5 separate regions of the Homo sapiens genome follow, and regions 2, 3, 4 and 5 are each linked to region 1. The links are contacts of gene promoters, found by promoter capture Hi-C in blood cells and fetal thymus (Javierre and others, 2016). All regions are on one chromosome and are shown on one strand. The core of a region is centred on a gene start or on the middle of the fragment in contact, and the rest is flanking DNA. Distances in the headings are between cores, read along the strand shown. Region 1 holds the start of NEURL4 (neuralized E3 ubiquitin protein ligase 4). Region 2 overlaps FXR2 (FMR1 autosomal homolog 2). Region 3 holds the start of FXR2 (FMR1 autosomal homolog 2). Region 4 has its middle 11 kb from the start of SLC16A11. Region 5 holds the start of BCL6B (BCL6B transcription repressor).

Region 1 (3,548 bases), core at 592-3,091:
GGGGTCAGACTTAATGATAATCACAGTCCTGTGCAGCCACGGTTTATGGGGCACCTGCTCTTCTCCCGAAAGCCTGGAACCTCGGACTTCCCACTCAATTGCCCTCACCTACTCTAACTCTTCATTCTTAAGGCTCTGCCCCTTTCCTTCTGGCTCCCACCCTCAGGTGTCCTGAACCCTCCCGACTCTGGGCTGGCTGCCCGCAGAGCTGGGCTCCTTACTTCTCCACATTGGGGGATTTCTGCATCAAGTTGGAGCTGTTCTTTCGTAGGATGCTCCGGGGCCGGTCCTGTTGGGAGTTTTGGGGGTTCAAGCAAGTTGGCCCAGAGTGCGGACTGCACCCGGGGCTGTTTACCTCTTGCCCTGCAGGTCCCCCAGGCCCGGGGCTGGAAGCCCTGGATACACTGGTTCGAGGCCCGGGGATGTTGAATCCACCAGGGTTCCTGCCAGACCCAAGGCTGTGGTTCGCAGCCTCCCTTGGGTGCTGACTGGGCCCGGAACCAAGGACCACTATCCCCCCGGAGGGACAGCTTGAACCAGTACTATGAGTTACGGAGCCCCCTGAGTGCACGTGGGGCCCAGAACCGTGAAACAAGACTACTCTGGAGGGCTGCCCAGCGCCTGCCTCGACTCCTGTGACCGCTGCGGGCACTCCTCTGGCTGCCCCTCCAGGGGAATCCCGGTTGAGGCCGCCAGCAGCCCCTAGGGACTCCACCTTCTCCATGGCCCCACTGGGGGGCTGCTCTCAGCGATCCTGACCCGCCTCCCGGCTCCACGTAGCCCCGCCCCTGGCCCCGCCCCCACCGCTGCCGGCCGGGGATGCTCGGGCTCAGTCCCGGGTCCACTTCTCCCCTGCTCCAGAGCTGCGGCGGGCGGAATCAAGACTATATAGAGACTCGGGCTGGGGGTCCCTCCGCTCGCCCCTTTCCTTTGTGTCCCACCCAAAGATTTTCTTTGTCTGGGCAATTTGTTCCCGCCCTTCTCCATCACCACCCTCATCCAAACCAGCCAATCCCAGTCAGGGGGCCAGGCCAGGAGCTTCGACTGTGACCTCACGGTCCTCCAGCCTGAGCTTGAGCTTCGGGGAGTTGGGCAGGGGGCTTGTTAATAGCTCTAAGGGAGATCTTTTGGGGTCATCAACGCTGTCGCTTGAAACGGCCTGTCGGGACTTCTTTAGACTCTTTGTGGTCTTAACATGGAATAGTTTGGTTGAGTTGGAGTTGAAGCTGGGCTTGACTTGAACTATCAGCGAGCTTCCCCCACCCCCGCCAGTCGGCTAGCTCAGCCAATCAGAAGAGGTGTGAGGCAAAGTGGAAGGACTGCCGCACTGTTGCAAGACACTTCGTCCTCAGTCGGGTGGCGGGAAGAGACTTTCACTACCGCTTCTCTGGGTCCTCCAGACTCGGCTCACGCTGCTTTGGAGCCTGCATCCCGAGGGGAGACACCCCCTCTTGCCGTAAAGCGAGTGCTTCAAGGTGTCACCGCCCCCTAGCGAGGGCGGGGTCGTCGGTGCCGCTGTCGCAAAGCAGAAAGTGTTTGGGCTCCAGCACCCCACCGTCGTAAAGATGCCTGCGGTGGGCGTGTCTTTCTCCCACTGTCGCAAAAGCTCCCTGCCCAGGTCTTCGTCCCCCTCGGAGCCGCTCCGTCACCTCGCTATGCCGTAAAGCGAGGCTCCCGACCCCGTGTCCTTCTGTTCTCATCGTGGTCGTCCCCAGCTCCTAGCGCGGGCTGCTTCATTGCCCGGCAGTGCCGTAAAGCATACCTGGCCTCAGCCCCCCGGTCGTATCCCTCGGACTGTCTGCCCGACGCGGTTGCCACGGTGCCGCCAAGCGCGGCTGTCGCGCTGCCCCGGTGTCAGCGGAGATGGCGGCAGGGTCGGGTGGGAGTGGGGGCTCTGGGGGAGGCCCTGGACCGGGGCCGGGCGGGGGTGGGGGCCCCAGCGGGAGCGGCTCAGGACCGGGGTCCAACGGGGGTCTGGGCAGCGGCGGGGAACTGCACCCGCGCACTGGGCGCTTGGTGAGCCTGTCGGCCTGTGGGCGTACGGCGCGGCGGCAGCAGCCGGGCCAGGAGTTTAACCACGGGCTGGTGTTGAGCCGAGAACCCTTGCGCGATGGACGCGTCTTCACCGTCCGCATCGACCGCAAGGTGCAGCGCTGGTACCGCGGAACAGAGATGTGGAGGGTGGTGGGAGGCGTCTAGAGGGAGACGGGGTAGGACAGCCAGGGTAGCCCACATTGCCGGGCACCGAGAGGGAACAGAAAGACCATAGAGCACCAGGGGGCGGTCAGGAAGACAGCATGAAGCAGAAACATTGAGTTTGAAGATGACATTAAGAGCTTGAGTTTTCTCAAGATCCAGAACCAGGGAAGGGACACGAGGGCTAACCCACTAGAATGGCTGGGAACAGACCTCCTGGTACAATTTCTTGGGCATGGAGGATGGAGAGATGTCAGAGATGTGATGGCAAGTGAAGAAAGATGCCAAGGAACGAACAAACGTAATCCCAGCACTTTGGGAGTCCGAGGCGGGCGGATCACTAGAGTCAGGGGTTTGAGACCAGCCTGGTGAACGTGGTGAAACCCCGTCTTTACTAAAAATACAAAAATTGGCCAGGCATGGTGGCGTGCGCCTGTAATCCCAGCTACTCTGGAGGCTGAGGCAGGAGAATGGCTTGAACCCGGGAGGCAGAGGTTGCAGTGAGCTGAGATCATGCCATTGCACTCCAGCCTGGGCAATAGAGTGAGTGAGACTCCGTCTCAAAAAAACAGAACAAACCATTGAAGGACAGAGGCTGTGCCAGAAAGATAGGTGAGGAGAAAGATCCAGGGTGAGGGAGGTGTGTGTGATTCAGTGAAGAGGCCAGGCTCACAGAAAAAGAACTTGGAAGGAGATTGAATCTGGGTAGAGCCTGATCTTTGGAGAGAATTAGGCCAGGGGAAAGGAATGAATGATACACAAGAGCAAGAGGTGTGGGTATAGGAAGTAGGAGAATTTGGATGGTTGGAGAGCCATAGAGACAAGGAAAGTTAGAGGAGGCAGGAGGTTGGAACCAAGGAATTTGTGCTTGGCTTGGAAAGGAGTGGTTTAGTAAACACTGAGTAGAGAGCAGAGTTGCTAAAGGAAAGCCCAAATAATTACCAAGACGGAGTCCAGAAAATCACTGTCTGCATCTCTGGATTAGTGTTCCAAGAGACAGAAAGCCAGCTAGCTGTCTGAGAGGTGGGAAGATATGGTGGCCTGTGGAATGGGGGGTGGCCCATTCTAAGCCTCTGTCCAATACCCCTATCCCAGGTCAACTCCTGGAGCGGCTCCATTGAGATTGGGGTGACAGCGCTGGACCCCAGTGTGCTGGACTTTCCAAGCAGTGCCACGGGCCTGAAGGGGGGCTCGTGGGTAGTGTCGGGCTGCTCTGTGCTGAGAGATGGACGCTCTGTGTTGGAGGAGTATGGTCAGGACCTGGACCAGCTTGGTGAAGGGGACCGCGTGGGCGTGGAGCGCACAGTTGCTGGGGAGCTTCGGCTCTGGGTGAATGGGCGGGATTGCGGTGT
Region 2 (3,403 bases), core at 77-2,576, 270 kb before region 1:
ACTTTTCCTTTCAGACAAGCAAGCAGTTGGCAGCAGCCTTCCAAGAGGAGTTCACAGTGCGAGAGGACCTGATGGGACTGGCAATTGGGACTCACGGTGCCAACATCCAGCAGGCCCGAAAAGTACCTGGGGTGACCGCCATTGAGTTGGGTGAAGAGACCTGCACTTTCCGCATCTATGGGGAGGTCAGCAAAGGATGTCTTTCTTCTGGGTCTCTTAGGGGATAGAGGGAAGAGAGGCCGAAGTAGAAAATAAGCCTCAAACTGGGCACAGTGGCTCACACCTGTAATCCCAGCACCTTCGGAGGTCAAAGTGAGAGGATCACTTGAGCCTAGGAGTTTGAGACCAGCCTGTGCAACATAGTGAGACCCAATCTCTACAAAAATTTAAAAATTAGCTGGAAGTAGTGGTGCGTACCTGTAGTCGCAGGTACTTGGGAGGCTGAAATGGGAAGATAGAGGGGAGGATCACTTGAGCCTGGGAGTTGGAGAACAACCTGGACAACATAGAGAGACCCTGTCTTTACCCCCCAAAAAAACCAAAAACCAAAAAACGTTAACTGAGCGTGGTGGCATGCATCTGTGGCCCCAGCTACTTGGCTACTTGGGAGGCGGAGGCAGGAGGATCACTTGAGCCTGGAAAGTCAAGGCTGCAGTACACCATGATGGTGCCACTGAACCAACCTGGGCAACATAGTCAATAGAGTGAGACCAAAAAATCAAAAAAATAGACCAGATCTCTGTTGCCCAAGCTGGTTGTTAACTCCTAGCCTCAAGCAATCCTCCCTTCTTAGCCTCCGAAACTGTTGAGATTATGGGTGTGAGCCGCTGTGCCTGGCCAAGGTCCTCTGTTTTTTTTTTTAAGTTATTTATTTGTTTAATTTTTTTTTTTTATGAGATGGAGTCTAACTCACTCTGTTGCCCGGGCTAGAGTGCAGTGGCACAATCTCAGCTTATTGCAACCTCTGCCTCCTGGGTTCAAGAAATCTCCTGCCTCAGCCTCCGGAGTAGCTGGGATTAGAGACGTGAGCCACCAATTTTGTATTTTTAGTATTTTAGTATTTTTGTATTTTGATTTTTGTATTTTTAGTAGAGATGGCGTTTCACCATATTGCCCAGGCTAGTCTTGAACTCTTGAGCTCAATTTATCCACCTGCCTCCAGCCTCCCAAAGTGCTGGGATTACAGGCGTGAGCCACCACATCCAGCTGGTCTTCTGTTTTAGTAACAACTCCCTGCTGTTCTTCCTTTAGACTCCCGAGGCTTGCCGACAGGCCCGAAGCTACCTTGAGTTTTCTGAGGACTCAGTGCAAGTGCCCAGGAACCTGGTTGGTGAGTTGGTGGTGTGTATATACAGTTAGAGGTCAGAATCAAGATTCTCTACAGTGATTCTGAGCTTTTATCCAGGATTGGCACCTCCCTGTGGACTCCCAGTTTCACAAGGACAGAGAAACAGTCTGTAATGGGAGTGATAAAAATGAAAGAATAAATTTCTAGGGATTGTAACATTTTGTCCTGTAAAAACACATCAGAAACCTAGAAGCAGGAGAATGAAGTAAATGGAATCCATATAAAGAAAATGAGGCTGGAAGACGGTGTATCAGCTTTATTCTTATTTCCTTAAAAAAAATAAAAGGCTGAATTCCTCATTTACCTATTCCAGGCAAAGTGATTGGAAAGAACGGGAAAGTGATCCAGGAGATTGTGGATAAATCTGGTGTGGTGAGGGTTCGAGTGGAAGGTGATAATGACAAGAAGAACCCCAGGGAGGAGGTATGGGTACGGGGCAAGTGGGCATAGAGATTGGTTTCCAGAAGTAAATGGGATTGTCCTCTGAGGGCTGGGATTGTTCTTTGAGAGGGTGGAGTACGGAAAGTTGTTTAACACTAGTAGATTTAGAGCCCAGAATGATCCCACTGGGCAGGCTCCCCTAGGAGACTGGGCGGCGTTAATCCTTCCATTTCATTTTCCTTTCTGATCCATCGTTTCTGCTCTCTGTTCTCTAGGGAATGGTTCCCTTCATTTTTGTTGGCACCCGAGAGAACATCAGCAATGCCCAGGCTTTGCTGGAGTATCACCTCTCCTACCTGCAGGTACCCAGGCCGGGAGAGAAAAATGCTGGGTGTGAAAAGGGAACTAAGACTGCTGTGGGGGTCAGCTCAGGGATTTTGGTTCTCTGTTTGTCTCTCCGTGTAGAACAGAAAACATCTGTGGAAATTTGGGGCTATAGGGTTGGGTCCCAGAATTTTCCTTGTTTAGCCAGTGTCTTCCTTCTCCCTGCATTCCTGAGAGGTTAGATATAGAGGGACAGTCAGGGTGCAGAAGCATGAAGCAAGGCACTGATCTTATTTCTCCTTCCCCTTCTTCCATCTTTTACCCAACCAGGAGGTAGAGCAGCTTCGCTTGGAGAGGCTACAAATTGATGAGCAGCTTCGGCAGATTGGGCTGGGCTTTCGCCCTCCTGGGAGTGGGCGGGGCAGCGGTGGCAGCGACAAGGCTGGATATAGCACTGATGAGAGCTCCTCCTCCTCCCTCCATGCGACTCGAACCTATGGGGGCAGCTATGGGGGCCGTGGCCGTGGCCGGAGGACAGGCGGTCCTGCCTATGGTGAGACAGTTATGGGAACAGGAGGCAAGGAGTGGCAGGGCTTGTGGGTAGAGGCAGAGGTCTGGATGGAAGTTTGGGGAAATCTGGAATGGAGATGATGAAAAAGTGATTGATTGGCTGGGAGGCTTGTGAGTGAGAAGGAGAATTCTTCCAGTTTGGGGGATGTGATGGATCCTGAGGTGGGATGAATGGCCGTGAATAAATCCCATTGTGTTCTTCAGGCCCCAGCTCAGATGTGTCTACAGCTTCAGAGACTGAGTCAGAGAAGAGAGAGGAGCCCAACCGAGCTGGGCCTGGCGACAGGGATCCCCCAACCCGAGGGGAAGAAAGCCGGAGGCGGCCGACTGGGGGCCGGGGTAGGGGACCCCCACCTGCCCCCCGGCCCACTTCGAGATACAATTCTTCATCTATTAGCTCAGGTACCAGACAGCTGGGTTCATGAATATGGGCCAAAAGGAAAGATGATGGGCACCTGACTGCCAACTCCTCCTCTTCTTCCTCTGACCAGTGCTGAAGGATCCAGACAGTAATCCCTACAGCCTATTGGACACGTCTGAACCAGAGCCCCCGGTTGATTCAGAACCTGGGGAACCCCCCCCAGCAAGTGCCAGGCGCCGCCGCTCCCGCCGCCGCCGCACTGATGAAGACAGGACCGTCATGGATGGAGGCCTGGAATCAGATGGGCCCAACATGACAGAGAATGGCCTGGGTGAGGGTGTGCCTGGGGTCTGGAAAGTTAGAGATGGGTAGGAATCGAGGGTGGGAGGTTGGATGTGTGACTCTGGTTTTTTCCTACC
Region 3 (3,573 bases), core at 14-2,513, 290 kb before region 1:
AATTTTTTGTATTTTAGTAGAGACGAGGTTTCACCATGTTGGCCAGAATGGTCTCCATCTCCTGACCTCGTGATCCGCCCGCCCGTGATCTCGGCCTCCCAAAGTGCTGGGATTACAGGCCTGAGCCACCGCGCCCGTCCTAATTTTTGTATTTTTAGTAGAAACAGGGTTTCGCCCTGTTGAGGCTGGTGTCAAACTTTTGGGCTCAAGTGATCCACCGCCTGAGCCTCCTAAAGTGCTGGGATTACAGGAGTGAGCCACAGCGCCCGTCTGAAACTATTCTTAAAGCTTTCTTTCTATTCTTTCTTTCTTTTTTTTTTTTTTTTGAGACTGAGTCTTGCTCTGTCGCCCAGGCTGGAGTGCAATGGTGCGATCTTGGCTCACTGCAACTTCTGCCTCCCAGGTTCAAGGTAGTCTCCTGCCTCAGCCTCCCGAGTATCTGGGATTACAGGCGCGTGTCACCACGCCCGGCTAATTTTTGTATTTTATTAGATGCGGGGTGGGGGGGGGGGTGGGTTTCACCATTTTGGCCACGCTGGTCTCGAACCCCTGACCTCAGGTGATCCGAGGACCTCAGGTGATCCACCTGCCTCGGCCTCCCAGAGCGCTGGGATTACAGGCGTGAGCCACCGCGCCCGGCCAAAACTTTCATTGTATCACAATCTCTTCAAGGTAAGAGCCATGACTGTTAAATCTACTACAGTAGAGAGTTACAGATTCTTAAAATATCGGCGATGCATACGCGAAGAGGGTAAAGCTCAGCGCGTGCGCACCAAGCACCTTTTTCCTTGCGGCGACTCCTCTTCTTTTTTTTTTCTTTTTGGAGCGTGCGCACCAAGAAAGACAAAGGTGGGGAAAGTGACCAAGCAGTCGTTCAGGCGCATGCCCATCCCTAACTTGTCCAAGCCCGGTGGGGCCAGCGGCGGCGGAGTGGGTGTGGCCTGAGCGCTGTGTGACTGTGCGGACGCCGCCCAATCGGACTGAGCGAGCCCGGCCCCTCCCTCCCCCTGATTGGTTGGTTCTCAGTGTTGTGGGGCGGGGAAAGGAAGAGACGGGGTGGCTGGGCGGTGGAGCGGTGAAGAAAGAAGGCTAATCTTGTTCTGCGCAAGCGCTAGCAAGCGACCAGGAGGGGGAGTGAGAGAGTGAAAGGGAATGTGGAAGCCCCGATGCGCTAGCTGGCGCTAGCTGGGGCTCTAACCTTGACGCCTGCGCGGTGGCCCTCGGGGCCCCGCGCGCAGCGGGCGGGTGCCCGGTGCGCCTGCGCAGTAGGCGGCGGTGGCAGGGGGAGGTGGAGGCTGTGGAGCGGCAGCGGCAGCAGCGGGTCCCGGGACTGAGGCAGCAGCGGGGGCGGCGGCGGGCGGAAGCTGAGGTGACGAAGGCAGCGGCGGCGGCGGCCGTTTCCCTCACGGTGGCGGAGACCAAGGCGGCGGCGGCGGACGGGGAGCGGCCCGGCCCCGGCCCCCTGCTCGTTGGCTGTGGCAGGGCCGCCGTGGGGCCGGCCCGGCTCCCGCCCCCCGCGGCTCCCCCTCCGGCTCCTCCTCCGGGGAGACGCCGGGGGCCTGGCCCGGCCCGCACTCAGACTGCTGCTGCAGCCGCCGCCGGGGGAGTCGGAGGCGGTGGCGGCGCCATGGGCGGCCTGGCCTCTGGGGGGGATGTGGAGCCGGGACTGCCCGTCGAGGTGCGCGGCTCCAACGGGGCCTTCTACAAGGTGAGACGGCGCGCCGACTGGGGACGCCGGTCCTTAGCCCCCTCCCCTGGCCGGAGCAGGAACGCGTGGGGCGGGATCGAGCTTCTGGAGCTGAGTCCTGGCCCTTAGAATCTTGGACCCTTGCTCCAACCCGCAGCCTTCCCTGGGAGACCGCTTAGAGTGAACCCTGTTCCTCTTATTTTTGACCCCTCTAAGGCACCTGCACCTGCTTCTACCCCCATCTCCGGGAGAATGAACTTCAGGCCATTATTGTCCCTGGCTTGGCGCTCCCCGCTCCGCAGGAGAGACCCCTTTACCCAGCTTCTAATTGACTGTGTCCGTTGTCTGGTGGAAGACATACCTTAGACCTTAATCACATCTTCCCCACGATCCAAGCACATGGAGAATTGTCTTTCTTCCACACGGTCCCTTTGGGAAGGCCCTCTGTCCCGTAAAAGATCCTTTCATCTTCCTCAGAGAGGCCTCTGCCTACTGGCTCTGGAACACTCACCCCACTTTCATCTTATATTCCGGTTCCCAAGCCAAGGAGAAATGGTCAGATCCATTTACGACGTTTGGCATCTTTGACCTCAGGAACCCTGGGTTGGATCAGTCAAGTTGCTTCCCAGCCAGCCATAAGGTGGCATCTTTCGCAAGTCTCTCTCCCCACCACACCTTGATCTCAAGACCCACTGCTCTACCATTCTACTCAGGAATGGATTTGAGGTCTCACTTAGACCTCAGATACCTTCAGGTCATTCATATAGTTTCTTCGTCTTGAGGCATGTAAGCTTCATAGTCATAATCTCTAAAAGGATCTCTGAAAGGAAGCTTATGAGGTTCCCTTCTGTTTATCTTAAGATTTCCACTTCTTGAAGACTCTTGGCCAACTATCCCAGTTCGGGAATCTGACAACCTTTTTTGGAAGACGGGATCATCTTTCAAAGACCCTTCCTTATTTCACCTCCCCCTTTGCCCAGGATTTGGTTCCTTAGAACTCCTTATAATACCACCTTCCTTATCTGCTCTGAATCTATTTTCTAGGACATTTTTTTCCCATTTAGATTAAGCCAGAGAGAGCCCTTTCTTGCCTCCCAAGAGTTTTTCTTTGTGTGACTGTTGGTATTCTGAACCTCTTGGATTTGATGCCTGGAATTGTCCTAGAGACTCTCCTGATTTCTGTCTCATTCTTTGATTTCACCCTGGGGAGCTGGGGAAGAGATACCTTCCCATGGCATCACTTGTTAAGAGTGGATCCCCCTTCCCCCTTTCCTTCAGTTCCCCTCAGGCCTTTTTCCCCCACTGTAGTCCTCTCTAGTTTCTCATGCCCTTGGAAATGTCTTTCTTTGACTCCTTCTCTAAGTCATATTTTTCTATAACTGCAGAGGGTCTTGTAATTTCTCTTGGGTGGTTTCTGCCTGTACTTCAGTTGCTAAGTGCATTGTAGTCATTTTTTTTTTTTTTTTTTTTTTTTTTGAGATGGAGTCTCGCCCTGTTGCCCAGGCTTGGAGTGCAGTGGTGCGATCTTGGCTCACTGCAAGCTCCGCCTCCCTGGTTCGCGCCATTCTCCTGCCTCAGCCTCCCGAGTAGCTGGGACTACAGGTGCCCACCACCATGCCCGGCTATTTTTTTGTATTTTTAGTAGAGACGGGGTTTCACTGTGTTAGCCAGGATGGTCTCGATCTCCTGACCTAGTGATCCACCTGCTTCGGCCTCCCAAAGTGCTGGGATTACAGGCGTGAGCCACCGCGCCCGGCCATTGTAGTCATTTTTTACTCACTCTTCATACTTACCCATTTTTGCCTTACTTCCCTCATCAGATTTATTTCTCTGCGGTGACTGTGGGTACCCATGTCTAACTTACCTTCTCAATTCAAGTTTTTAGC
Region 4 (3,253 bases), core at 652-3,151, 270 kb after region 1:
CTCTGGAGGCTGCGGTGAGAGAACTGCTTGAGGCCAGGAGCAGTCTGGGCAACAAAGTGAGACGCATCTCTGAAAAACAAACAAAAACCACAGAAATTTATTGCTCACATTTCTGGAAGCTGGGAAGCCAGAAGATTTGGTGTTTGGTAAGGGCTTGCTCTCATAGATGGCACCTTCTAGCTGTGTCCTCACAGGGCAGAAGGAGTGGACAGGCTGCCTCAGGCCTCTTTCATAAGGGCACTCAATCTCATTCACAAGGTCTTCATCCTCATGAAGGCCTCAGTCACCTCCTAAAGGACCCACCTCTTAATACTTCGCATTGGGGACTAGATTTTTTTTTTTTTTTTTTGAGATGGAGTTTCGCTCTTGTTGCCCAGGCTGGAGTGCAATGGCATGATCTCGGCTCACCACAACCTCCGCCTCCCAGGTTTAAGCAATTCTCCTGCCTCAGCCTCCCGAGTAGCTGGGATTACAGGCATGTGCCACCGTGCCCGGCTAATTTTTTTGTATTTTTAGTAGAGACAGAGTATCTCCATGTTGGTCAGGCTGATCTCGAACTCCTGATCTCAGGTGATCCGCCCACCTCGGCCTCCCAAAGTGTTGGGATTACAGGCGTGAGCCACCGGACCCGGCCTGGGATTAGATTTCAACATATGAATTTGACGGGGAGAGGCACAAACATTAAGATCATAGCAATTACCATCTTTTTTTTCCTCAAAAGTAGGAACTATTATAATTTGCTTTGGGGATGAGGGAACTATTGCAAAGAGAGGTTGAATAACTTGCTCTAGGTTATATAGCCAGTAAGTACCAAAGCCAGGGCTTGAACCCAGACAATCTGGTTCCAGGGTTCGTGTTTGTCCCACCATGTTATGTTGCCTCTTAATAACATATACTAAAATACACTCACATTCCACACTAAATATATTTTTACAATTAAAAATTTAAAAGATTTCTTTTTTTTTTTTTTGAGACGGAGTCTTGTTCTGTCGCCCAGGCTGGAGTGCAGTGGTGCGATCCCTGCTCACTGCAAGCTCCGCCTCCTGGGTTCACTCCGTTCTCCTGCCTCATCCTCCCGAGTAGCTGGGACTACAGGTGCCCGCCACTACACCCGGCTAATTTTTTTGTGTTTTTAGTGGAGATGGGGTTTCACCCTGTTAGCCAGGATGGTCTCGATCTCCTGACCTCGTGATCCGCCCACCTCGGCCTCCCAAAGTGCTGGGATTACAAGCGTGAGCCACCGTGCCCGGCCCAAAAATTTAAAAGATTTCTAAGATTTTTTGCCGTTTAAAATCTTAAAAGGACGTTTATTCTTTTAAAGGATTGTTTGTCTATAAGAAACTCAGTGAATCTATGATTGGCTCTGATTTCTCAGCAATCACGATAAACATTTAGGAAATCCTGCAAAGTGAAAAAAAGCTTCAAATTGTTTTCCAATGTAATGAAAATTTAGGAACATGAAATTTAACAAAGAAATGGACTAATATTATGTTTTGTAGACATTTTTAAAAACGCTTTAATATTCATTACTTTAGATTTTTAAGTTTGCCTTTTGTATTTGGAAATCGGTACACTTTTTCATATCCCTAGCATTTCTGTAAGCATGGGGAATGCTTTTAGCCCTAAGCCCTGCATACTTAGGGAATAAATATACTCTCCTCAAGGACAACAGGGAAATAAACCCAGAAACCACATGCCATGCAAGAACAGCGGGGCTTTATGAGTCCTGGAGCTCAGGTGTCAGCCCACTCTGCTGCTCACTGTGTTCAGCACTCACTGGCCACAGTCCTGAAACATCAGCTCTTGGGGCGGTGGCATCAACTTCCTATCTCCCAGATCCCTGGGCCCAGGGAAGGGGAAGCTGATTACCCATAAATCAGGGTGCTCGGCCGGGCATGGTGGCTTAAGCCTGTAATCCCAGCACTTTGGGAGGCCGAGGCAGGTGGATTACCTGAGCTTGGGAGTTCACCACCAGCCTGGGTAACACGGTGAATCCCTGTCTCTACTAAAATACAAAAAATTAGCCGGGCATGGCGGCATGTGCCTGTAATCCCAGCTACTCGGGAGGCTGAGGCAGGCGAATTGCTTGAACCTGGGAGGCGGAGGTTGCAGTGAGCAGAGATTGCGCCACTGCACTCCAGCCTGGGTGACAGAATGAGACTCCATCTAAAAAAAAAAAAATCAGAGTCCTCTTTCTACGTACCCAGTTGATGAGATGCCCGAGGCCCCGCCTCACCTCTCTGTAGGCCTGTGCAGGTGTGATTTCCCTCCAGGTGAGACCATGACACCCGTCCCTCACAAATGTGTTTTAAACCAGAATCGGTCTCATTGCAAGGGACTCCTGATTGTGAATGGAGGAGAGAAAGATAGGATGAAAGCTTGAGATGGAGGTAGCTAAAGCTGGGTATGGCTCTTTGAATGGGATAGAGGGAAGGAACCCTAAAGAAGAGATGCTGCCCAGCATTTAAAACGTTTTGACAGTAGGGGAGAGGCAGGAGAAAGCTTTGCAGAGGAAATGGCATGGAGATGTGGGCAGGGGCAAAGGAGATTCATGGCCAACAAGAGGTACAGAAAGGAACGCACTGGGAGGGACAAGATCCACCTGCACAAGGACAGGAAGAGGCTTGTGTGGCATCCACTGCAGCCAGTTGCAGCCTCTTCAGCGTCTGGGCCCTTCTATGACTTTGGGACTTTCTCAGGGCTTAGCCCCCACGCGACTCCTCCCAGTGTTCACAAAGGCATTTCTGCCTTGGGGCAAGAAAACAGGCACCATTTGCTTACTGGGCCCCCAAAACTCTGCCTTGCATATGTCAGATCCTCCAAGATGTGTAATTTACATCCCTGCAGAAAACCTGTTATCTGACCTCCTGTCCCCTCCTGCCTTGGCTTCTGGTCCTGGTTGATATTCCTTGGGGAGGTAGAGACTCTGGCCAGGCAGGGCTGCTGCAGCCCTAAGGGCTGATGTGGGTTACCATGTCCACTAAGAGCCTGCATCCTTCAAGTCAGATGCCCAGGTCTCAGGCTGAGGCTGGGAAGGCAGACAAAGGGACCCAAAAAACTCAGGTAGCTGAGAGGTTGGTATAGCAGCAGGGAGATGACAAATATCACCTTCTGGCCCCTTCTGGTCTGACTGCCCCTCACAAATCCAGACAGGAGGGGCATAGTGACTTGGAGTAGAATTGGACTGGCGTAGAGATGAAAGGGTGGCTACCGGTGGCTAGAAAATGGGATGGAATGAAATGGATGGGAACCT
Region 5 (3,740 bases), core at 70-2,569, 300 kb after region 1:
AGCAGTGGTAAGGCTTTTCCCCTGGAGGCAGAGAACATGGGAGATCAGGGACTTTGCCCTAGGACAGCTGTGGGCTTGAAGGCCAGGGCCCTCTCTTCCCCTACCTGTGTGCACTGTACGATGACTGGCAAGGTTGCCCTTGTAGCGGAACGAAGACCGGCACAGCTGACACTTATAGGGTTTGTCTTCGTCCCCAGGAACCAAGGAGTCCAGCCCCGATGAGCACCCTGCCACAGCCTCACAGTTCTGGCAGCTGAAAAATTCACTTCCTGGGAAGGGGAATGGGTGACGGCAACCATAGTTATTAATGAGGGCTATCTAGGTACTACTGAATCCTCAAACCACACAGTAGCAGGCTTTCTGTTTCCCAATTTATTGTTAAGACTTCTGGGGCTGGTTTGACTTGCTCAAGGCCAAGTAAGAAGATAGTAAGATGAGCCAGATCTGACTGCACATCTGTCTGACTCGAGTACTCAGCTAATCTCCTCTTCAATAGCAGTGGTGGGGGCCAGGTACGGTGGCTCACGACTGTAATCCCAGCACTTTGGGAGGCCGAGGCGGTCGGATCACAAGGTCAAGAGATGGAGACCATCCTGGCCAACATGGTGAAACCTCGTCTCTACTAAAAATACAAAAAGTAGCTGGGTGTGGTGGCACGTGCCTGTAGTCCCAGCTACTCGGGAAGCTGAGGCAGGAGAATCGCTTGAACCTGGGATGTGGAGGTTGTAGTGAACCGAGATTGCGGCACTGCACTTCAGCCTGGCCACAGAGTGAGACTCCGTCTCAAAAAAATAAATAAATAAAATAAAAGCAGTGGTGGTAGGTGGAGGCCCCTGCTAGTGGGAGGAGTTTTGTTTCTCCTCCTGTTTTTTTTTTTTTTTTTTTTTTTGAGACAGAGTCTTGCTGTGTTGCCTATGCTGGAGTGCAGTGGTGTGATCTCGGCTCACTGCAATCTCCACCTCCCGGGTTCAGACGATCCTTCCACTTTAGCTTCCTGAGTAGCTGGGACTACAGGTGTGCACCACCGTGCCCGGCTAATTTTCATTTTTATTTTTTGTAGAGACCACATCTGACTATGTTGCCCAGGCTGGCCTTGAGCTCTTGGATTCAAGTGATCCTCCTGCACTGGCCTCCCAAAGTGCTGGCATTACAGGCATGAGCCACCATGCTTGGCTAAAATCTCCTCCTCACTTGCACCACTCTGAATGACAGCCTGCCAGAGAGGCCCTGACAAGCTTTGGGCTGACCATTCAGCTCTGAAAGGGGATAGGCCAGAAATTCTCAAACTTTGCTGCTCATTGGAAGCACTGGGAGAGCTTTAGAAAAATACTGATGACTCGTCCCATGTCCAGATATTTTAATCTATGGAGTGTGACCTGGGCAGTGGGAGTTTAAAAGCTTCCTAGGTGATTCTAATTTGTAATAAAGTTTAGGAACCATTGGAATAGGCCTTTCTGGGAGAGTTTTTGGCACAAACTTGCCTGGAGCAGTCACGGGAGAAAAGCCAAGAAAGAGGGGCTCTTACCCGGTAGTGGACGAGCCCGTTCAGAGGGTGATCCAGAGGTGTCTTGAGCCTGGGATGTGAGGAGGTAGGGGGTACTGGCTGGAGCCCCACATTTGAACTGCACAGTGGCAGCAGTTGGAGAGAGCCTAGGCAGATGGCAAGGAAAGGGTTAAAAGAGATTGTACGGTTGAGGGGTGGGGGTTCTCTCCTGGGAAATTTGGAGCCAAAGGCCTGCCCTCTCAGGGTGAGCCAATATTGTTGACCAATGAGCCACATCCATTGTACTGCCCAAGTGCCACCCTGCTGAATAAACCTGGTCTCTGGCCAGCTCCTTAAGGTGAGCTAGTGTCTCTGAAACCCACCACCTATCTCCCTTCCTCCTGACCATCAAGGCCCAATGACTCTGTCTTCTAGCTGAGGCCAGCTCTGACAAATTCTTGAGGTTCTAGACTCTGTACCTGCTCTGGGGACCAGGAATGGGTCCTTCTTCACTGCTGCTGCTGCTGCTGCTGCTGCTGCTGGAGGCCTCGTCTCCACTGGGGAGCCTGGCTTGGGGGCAAGGTTGACCAGAACTTCTCTCCCCGACCAGGCTCCCTGCTTGGGAGGCCTGAGAGTTTAGCACGATGTACTTGTACTTTTTCCAGTTGCAGGCCTTGGGGTCAGGGCTGGCTGGACTGGGGGGGCCTTGACTGCAGCTTCGAGATTCAGTAGGTGGGTCTGGGTGTCCTTCGGAGCGCCTGGGACTACCTGGTGGAGGGGCCGTTGGGGGTGTTGGGGGTTCTGCTTCCAGGGGGCGCAGGGAGATGCCCAGAGGTTCATAGCTGGGGAAAGTGTGATGAACGTTAGTGCCATTTCCTAAACTCTGCCTTTGCCCTTAACACCTCACCCACAGAGAACGCCGAGCCAGGGTCCCTCACCTGGCCTGGATGAAGCGGTGGCATGCCTGGACCACGTGCTCCATCTGCAAATAGGTGGCGGCCGCTAGGACTGCTGGTGCAGTGGCTGGAGAGAGGCGCAGGCGCGAAGTGTACATGAAGTCCAATAGAGGGGCGAAGCCTCTCGCTTCGGGACCCCCGGGCAGAGAGAGCACGTCCACCCCGACTCCCGCACGGCCCCGGAAAATTGAATAGAAGAAGCCACTAGAGAGAGAGCAGATAAGTCCTTTGGGGGCTGGGGAACCAAGGGAGACATGCGCAGCTTCAGGAAGCCCCGCCCCCTGAAAAAGTCCCGCCTCCTCACTATCACCCCGCCCCCAATTCTGGGACGCTCCGCCTCCTGCTTCTGAAAGACTTGGCTTCGGATTCCCTCTCAACGGCCCTGTGGTCCCACCCCTTTCCCATTTGGCCCCGCCCCAGGCCCCACCCCTCGAACCTGCAGGCGATGAGAACTGCCTTGTGTGCTCTGAGGGGTTGCCCGCCAACCAGCAGCGTGACGTCAGTGAGGATCCCGCGCAGGCGCAGCTCGTTGAGGTTGCCCAGCACGTCGGAGGAGTGGCGAGTGAACTCGCGGACGTAGCCCAGCGCTCCCTCCGGGGCGGCGGGGGAACCCATAGCGACACAGGCCTGTAGAGGCCGTGGAAAGTGCTCTGGATCCAGGCAGTCCTAAGACGCCTTCCCTCCTCTGTTTGCCTTTTCCTTCCGAGGTGCAACTAGAGCCAGGACTTCCAGCCCCTAGCCCCGGCACACGCAGCCTCCCTCCTAATTCTTCTTGTTCATTCTGCCCTCTACGACACCCTCGCTCCCTTGCCTCTTCCAGATCCCACAGCGCTTGGAGCCAGTTGAAGGTTCCACACCGCGGCGTCGTTGGCGAGCGTGGGGAATCCCGCGCCCATCGCCCTGGGTTCGACCCCCAGTGCCCCTCCAGCACCGCCACTCCCCTCTGCGCGCCTGTGTCTCAGGTGTCCAACCCTGCCTCGAGATCTCACGGCCTGCCGTCCACACACCTCCAAATCCCAGCCGAGGCTCCCTTCCCCGAACTACGGAATTCTGCGACTCCTATCTAGTCCCCAATCCCTAGTTTAGCCCAATTTCTGGGACTCAGGCTCGCTGATGGCAAGCTCCACACAAGCTCCTACCCTCTTGGGGGACCCAGGAGTCTGGCTCCCTCAGTCTCTTGTTCTTACCCCCGTCCTGCAGGGGCCGCGGCTTCTCTTCTTAAGGGGGGCGGGGTCTCTCTCCCCTCTTGGCCTCGGCTCCTTTATCTGGCCGGGATGTCGGGGGCGGGGGTGGAGGTGGGG

Evidence for each region. Contacts are between HindIII fragments. The CHiCAGO score rates a contact against its expected background, and 5 or more counts as called.
Region 2: a fragment that was not itself captured here is called in contact with the fragment with the promoter of NEURL4 in region 1 in 15 of 17 cell types (activated CD4 T cells, naive B cells, total CD4 T cells and 12 more); the score reaches 13.1 in activated CD4 T cells.
Region 3: the fragment with the promoter of FXR2 here is called in contact with the fragment with the promoter of NEURL4 in region 1 in 9 of 17 cell types (fetal thymus, naive CD4 T cells, total B cells and 6 more); the score reaches 8.4 in fetal thymus.
Region 4: a contact is called between a fragment that was not itself captured here and the fragment with the promoter of NEURL4 in region 1, in 8 of 17 cell types (M0 macrophages, naive B cells, monocytes and 5 more). The highest score is 8.6, in M0 macrophages.
Region 5: a contact is called between a fragment that was not itself captured here and the fragment with the promoter of NEURL4 in region 1, in 2 of 17 cell types (naive B cells and monocytes). The highest score is 7.4, in naive B cells.

The regions. Positions count from the first base shown.
Region 1 is chr17:7,327,628-7,331,175 of GRCh38, reverse strand. It overlaps NEURL4 (neuralized E3 ubiquitin protein ligase 4), which reads left to right and starts at 1,841. Exons shown (of 29, transcript NM_032442.3): 1 at 1,841-2,145; 2 at 3,292-3,548. The coding sequence starts at 1,864. RefSeq lists enhancers at 407-556, 1,437-1,486, 1,517-1,696, 1,632-1,926, 1,909-2,568 and a silencer at 1,897-2,136. The HindIII fragment of the contact is 8,367 bases long and covers 1-3,548 here.
Region 2 is chr17:7,592,606-7,596,008 of GRCh38, reverse strand. FXR2 (FMR1 autosomal homolog 2) reads left to right here. Exons shown (of 17, transcript NM_004860.4): 8 at 15-185; 9 at 1,252-1,330; 10 at 1,662-1,771; 11 at 2,005-2,091; 12 at 2,384-2,606; 13 at 2,828-3,025; 14 at 3,115-3,315. Among named protein-coding and RNA genes, the nearest start is that of SOX15, 4.2 kb to the right of the region's middle. The HindIII fragment of the contact is 5,554 bases long and covers 1-3,403 here.
Region 3 is chr17:7,612,587-7,616,159 of GRCh38, reverse strand. It overlaps FXR2 (FMR1 autosomal homolog 2), which reads left to right and starts at 1,263. Exons shown (of 17, transcript NM_004860.4): 1 at 1,263-1,708. The coding sequence starts at 1,628. It also overlaps a transcript of SHBG not described here. RefSeq lists silencers at 1,019-1,068, 1,179-1,708. The HindIII fragment of the contact is 2,190 bases long and covers 291-2,480 here.
Region 4 is chr17:7,053,366-7,056,618 of GRCh38, reverse strand. No RefSeq gene overlaps it. Among named protein-coding and RNA genes, the nearest start is that of SLC16A11, 11 kb to the right of the region's middle. The HindIII fragment of the contact is 959 bases long and covers 1,422-2,380 here.
Region 5 is chr17:7,022,986-7,026,725 of GRCh38, reverse strand. It overlaps BCL6B (BCL6B transcription repressor), which reads right to left and starts at 3,676. Exons shown (of 9, transcript NM_181844.4): 1 at 3,627-3,676; 2 at 2,876-3,066; 3 at 2,422-2,643; 4 at 1,963-2,325; 5 at 1,526-1,650; 6 at 105-269; 7 at 1-21. The coding sequence starts at 3,054. The HindIII fragment of the contact is 163 bases long and covers 1,238-1,400 here.